Regions from separate parts of the Homo sapiens genome. Here region 1 is linked to region 2. The links are contacts of gene promoters, found by promoter capture Hi-C in human tissues and cell types (Jung and others, 2019). All regions are on one chromosome and are shown on one strand. The core of a region is centred on a gene start or on the middle of the fragment in contact, and the rest is flanking DNA. Distances in the headings are between cores, read along the strand shown. Region 1 has its middle 24 kb from the start of PCMTD2. Region 2 holds the start of NPBWR2 (neuropeptides B and W receptor 2).

Region 1 (2,763 bases), core at 91-2,590, 170 kb before region 2:
GGTTCACAATGTCACTGAATTTTACATCTTAAAACAGTTAATTTTATATTATGTGGATTTTACCTGAATAAAAAAACAAAATCCCACCCCAGCATTCCCTCACCAGGGTGAGCCCTCTTCCCACATGCTCCCTTAGCCTGGGGTTCAAGGCCCTCCACAGCCCAGCGCTGTCTAGGCCTGGCCAACCACATTCTGGACACATGTCTGCCAGCTCCTAAACCCATGGCCGTTTCCTCATTCCAGATCCAGGTCACCTTCTCTCGCCTTCACAGACACCCAGGGATCAGCAACACCTCAGGGCTCACAGGGCCCTTTGAACCTTGTCCTACTGTAATCCAGACCTTGACACATGGTCTCCAAGGGTTGTCCCATCTCAATAAAAGGAAATCAGAGTTTTCTGAGCACCAACGTGTGCTGGTGTCTTGCTCAGGTGAACTCCCTGCTATCTATAGCTAGTCCCCTGTGCAGAGCGGAGGGCCAGGCTCAGGTGGCTGAGTGACTCACCTGACCTGCAATCCCACAGCCTCCAGTGGCTTCACACTCAGGTTCCAGCCCAGAGCCAGGGCTCCAGGTGCCACCCAGGGAAAGTTTGTGAGTCAGATGAACGTGTGTCCAGCCCACACAGGAGAGGCATTGAAGCTGTGCGGTCACTTTTGTGATCATGAGGTGGTCCAGGCCCCATGAGAAACCTGATGAATCAGGCAGACCCTGTTTATGTACACCAACCCAAGGCTCCCCAGAGGCCAGCTCCAGGAAGTGGATTCACACTAGTATTTGATACTTAGTTAGAGCTGAGGATGCCTGAACCTTGCTTCCGTCCACACCCTCCCAATCTCTGGATGCTAAAGATACATTCTCAGGCCTGCCTCAACCCTGCTGACCAGGATCTGGTCTGAGGCTCCCCACAAAACCTCTGAGACTCCCCACAAACCTCAGGGGCTCGAAAGGCACACAGGGTGGGGAGGATGCTTATCGGAGCCAGGCTTTTGCCTTTGGGGGGCCTCGGACTGCAAGTACTTTTTTTTTTTTTTTTTGCCCAGGCCACAGGGAGCATGGGAACTCCCAGGAGAGGTGTTCCCTGGAGCCTGGGGTCCAGAGAGGGACCCAGCCTCTGTTTTACCCTGCCTTCAAAACTTCAGCACCCCCAACCCCATAATAGTCTCATCCCAGCCCTCACTGGGCAGAGGATCCCAGCACCAGCCCCATCCCCAGCAGTCAGGCCCTCCCGTGATCTGCCTGGGGCACCCTGGAAGGGGCCATGGTGCCTTTGGGGCCAGCAGGAATGTGGAGATCACTGGCAGAGGCAGGGACAAGGTTATAGGTTGAGTTCCATCCCTAACAATTCATATGTTGAAGCCCTAACACCCAGTACCTACAAGTATGGCATTATATGGAAATAGGGTCTTTGCAAATGATGAAGTTCGGAAGTCATTAGGGCCATGCTTCATTCATGATGATTATGTCCTTATCAAAAGGGGAATGTGGACACAGAAACACGCACAGGGAAGAAGGTTTGTGAAGACTGGAGCTTTGCTGTCACAAGCAAAGAAACTACCAGAAGCTGGAGAAAGGCCCTGGAACAGATGCCTCCCTAGGGCCGGCCCTGCCAACACCCTCATTCCAGACTCTGGACTTCAGAACTTCGAGACAACAGATCTCTGTGGACCAGGAGGGATGGGGTGGAGGTGGCCTCCCTGAAGATGTTCCCTGAGTCTCCACCCCACTGTACCCAGAGCTGACCCTGAGCCTCCATCCTGCTGTCACTGGAGCCTGGAAAACCCAGGGCTGCCCAAACCCCGTGCCTCACATCTCCCCGGGCTCCTCCTCCAGCTATCAACACTTTGGAACAGCCGTTATGTCCCTTTAATCTCTAGGAAAGGTGCCTCAGGAAGGCACAGGAAGAGGCACAAGATGGTGTCTCAACTGTGTCCACTGGGCCCAGGCTGGCCCTTTAAGGAGGTGAGGGCAGGCCGTGGGATCACATCCCTCTTCTCAGAGAGGCCAGGGATAAGGCCAGAAAGGGGACAGGAGGAAGTGTTGGGGCGGAGGGGTGGCAGTGCTGTGGGAAGAGGATGCTGAGGGCAGTGGCCCCTCCCCACAGGTGCCAAGTGGAGTGGGTGAGGAGGAGCCTTCAGCCTCCATCTGGACCAGACCTCTAACCATTGCATAGGTGCCACTTCTTGGGAGGTCCAGTCCCAGCCAAGGGTCAGCTCCAGAGATTTTATTTTCCCCAAAATGGACATGATGCAGCTGGCTAAGTCATGGTTCTAGAACTTTCAGGAGTGACCCTGCTACCTGATAGGAGTGAGCAACACCCCCTGGAGGTCCTCATGTAGCCCGTGCCTCTGCCTGTGACCAGCTACCACCCAAGCACCTCCTCACACAGTCTCTGGGCCCTGCTGGTCACAGGAAAGGCTACCGGCAAGGGCTGGGATGGCCCAGGCTCTGCGTGTTTCCTGGGATGGCAGAGGGGTGGCCCCCACCACCTTAGCGGATCAAGGCACAGTAGTTACTGCTGCTGCCCTCTGAGTCTGGGGGAGCTGGCCAGGTGGGGGATATGGGGCATTAAGACAGCCCTGATCTCTGACACAGAACAACAGGCCTGGGGCAGGGCTCATGCTGTTCTCCCTCTTGACCATCAGAACAACCACCTAACCACCCAGTGCCCAGCTGCCCAGGGCCCTCCTAGATCAAAGGGATGCCCTGCCCGTGTGGTCTATGACTCCACCCCTGCTCTAACCACCCAGTGCCCAGCTGCCCAGA
Region 2 (2,889 bases), core at 87-2,586:
GACATCAGGGTACTCAGGGCGACTGCCCAGGCTCCTGTCCTAACCAATAGACTTGACAGAGCAACTCTCAGGAAAGAAGGCCGACCATGAGTGTGCGGTGACATCCTTGCAACCCCACAGGCAGCGGGCACAGTCTCGATGGGCAGACACATCTCCCCAGACTGAAAACACACAGTGACCAGGCACGGTGGGTCATGGCTATAACCTGAGCACTTTGGGAGGCTGAGGTAGAGGCTGAAGCTCAGGAGATCGAGACCAGCCTGGGCAACATGGTGAAACCCCGTCTCTACAAAAAAAAACACAAAAATTAGCCAGGCATGGTGGCACATGCCTGTAGTCCCAGCTACTTGAGAGGCTGAGGTGGGAGGATCACCTGAGCCCAGGGAGGTCAGGGCTGCAGTGAGCCATGATAGTGCCACTGCACCCCAGCCTGGGTGACAGGGCAAGACCCTGTCTCAAAAAAGAAGAAAGGAAAGAAAACACAGACCCTCTGACCCAACACGTCTCCGCTGAGGAGCGGCTCTGAGACTGGCGACTGCTCGTGTCAGCTGTGGCGTTGCCTGCAAAGCAGGTCCAGATGCGGCCGAGCTGCACACACACGGGTTGGATAAGCCAGGGTGCGTCCAGCAAGGAAGAAAAGCAGGGAGAAGGGAAGGACTTAAAGACCAACCCAGAGCAGAGTGTGATGCTCACCACCTCTGCAGGACGGCGGGAGAGTTACGTGTCAGCGTGAGAACGTCTTCTCTGCAGCCTTTCACAGCTTGCCTAGGCTGAGTTCCTCTTTTAGCAAAAGACAAAAAAAGAAGGTGGGTTGCCTATGGCCAACAAGTTCTGCTTCCACATGAGGGCATACAGACCCCCCAGATGCCCACACTCAGCCAAGGACATGTAGACCCACTCAGATACAACGCAGAGCTCACCCACAGAGACCCCCATACAGGCAGACACAGGCCCACACACGTACATGTCCTAACTGGCACACACACACAGGAACACACCATGTACACACACAGGGTGGGGCAGGAGACCCACCAAGACACCCATGTTCACAGATAAGGGTGCCCAGGCCCACAGTGACTCCCGGACAGAGGCACAGATGCCTTCAGTGCCCTCTGCCCGAAGACCTGGGCACACCCAGAGGCCCCTGCATGGAGTCCCTTCCTGACACACAGGCGCACACGTGCCTCAGCCGCCCACTGAGGAGTCTGCCTGGGTAAGTGAATGCTGAGGAGACCCTGGGACAGCCGACTGCAGGCGCTACTGCAGCTCAGGGGAAGGTGGGGCCTGCCTTCCGGGCTCCACGTCAGCAAGGGGGATCCGCCTCCCTCCCTCACCAGCATCAGCACTGACACCAGGCTGGGAACCTCGCAGCCGGGGCTGAGGCAGCCAGCAGGGCAGGTCTTGAAACTCCTGAAACCTCAGCTGGAGGTCTGTCAGTGAGGACCACACCTCGCCCTCCATCCCTGCGACTGCCTGTACTGGCCAAAACCAGGAACACACCAAGGCTACCAACTTCTGGACTCGAAGCACTGGACAGGTCAGTGGAGAGAAGAGTAGCTGGACCAGCAGGGTCTGCAGCATCTCTCGGGAGGGTGTGAGGGAGGGTGCAGACTCCAAGACCCCTGAGGGAAGGACCTTCAGATTCAAGGGAGCCAGAGATGAGCTTGGGAGGTGTGTTTCCAAAGGGACCGCTTGATTCTACGCAGCCCGTGCATCTGCGGGTTGCTGGGGCAGGGACGGATCCACATCTCTTCCCAGGAGGGTGGCCAGCAGCTGCTCTCTGCGGGAGGAGGGAACTGATCTGCTGAAGTCTCACCAGGAAGAGGCGGGAGGAGGCCCCCACACACCCCACCAGGCTCCCTCTGGCCCCATGTCCTTGACCTGGCAAAGTGGCCGCAGTCTCTGCCAGAGAACCTGGAGTGGCTGTGCCCTAACAGACGGCCGGATCTCAAAGTCTCTGGTTGTTTTTCTTTCCTAGAATCCAGCCCAAGGAGGCCCCCAACCAGATACCCAACTCCAAGGCACCTCCCACCTGCCCAGGGCGCAAATCGTCAACGGTCCCAGCTACAATGCAGGCCGCTGGGCACCCAGAGCCCCTTGACAGCAGGGGCTCCTTCTCCCTCCCCACGATGGGTGCCAACGTCTCTCAGGACAATGGCACTGGCCACAATGCCACCTTCTCCGAGCCACTGCCGTTCCTCTATGTGCTCCTGCCCGCCGTGTACTCCGGGATCTGTGCTGTGGGGCTGACTGGCAACACGGCCGTCATCCTTGTAATCCTAAGGGCGCCCAAGATGAAGACGGTGACCAACGTGTTCATCCTGAACCTGGCCGTCGCCGACGGGCTCTTCACGCTGGTACTGCCCGTCAACATCGCGGAGCACCTGCTGCAGTACTGGCCCTTCGGGGAGCTGCTCTGCAAGCTGGTGCTGGCCGTCGACCACTACAACATCTTCTCCAGCATCTACTTCCTAGCCGTGATGAGCGTGGACCGATACCTGGTGGTGCTGGCCACCGTGAGGTCCCGCCACATGCCCTGGCGCACCTACCGGGGGGCGAAGGTCGCCAGCCTGTGTGTCTGGCTGGGCGTCACGGTCCTGGTTCTGCCCTTCTTCTCTTTCGCTGGCGTCTACAGCAACGAGCTGCAGGTCCCAAGCTGTGGGCTGAGCTTCCCGTGGCCCGAGCAGGTCTGGTTCAAGGCCAGCCGTGTCTACACGTTGGTCCTGGGCTTCGTGCTGCCCGTGTGCACCATCTGTGTGCTCTACACAGACCTCCTGCGCAGGCTGCGGGCCGTGCGGCTCCGCTCTGGAGCCAAGGCTCTAGGCAAGGCCAGGCGGAAGGTGACCGTCCTGGTCCTCGTCGTGCTGGCCGTGTGCCTCCTCTGCTGGA

The links. The method cuts DNA at HindIII sites, captures the fragments that hold promoters and counts their contacts. A contact is called where the count stands out against the background at its distance.
Region 1: a fragment that was not itself captured here is called in contact with the fragment with the promoter of NPBWR2 in region 2 in 3 of the 25 tissues and cell types used here (IMR-90 fibroblasts, dorsolateral prefrontal cortex and spleen).

What each region holds. Positions count from the first base shown.
Region 1 is chr20:64,278,106-64,280,868 of GRCh38, reverse strand. It overlaps the pseudogene IL9RP5. Among named protein-coding and RNA genes, the nearest start is that of PCMTD2, 24 kb to the right of the region's middle. The HindIII fragment of the contact is 9,812 bases long and covers 1-2,763 here.
Region 2 is chr20:64,106,012-64,108,900 of GRCh38, reverse strand. NPBWR2 (neuropeptides B and W receptor 2) reads left to right here and starts at 1,336. Exons shown (of 2, transcript NM_005286.4): 1 at 1,336-1,537; 2 at 1,979-2,889. The coding sequence starts at 2,070. RefSeq lists an enhancer at 1,288-1,788. The HindIII fragment of the contact is 24,186 bases long and covers 1-2,889 here.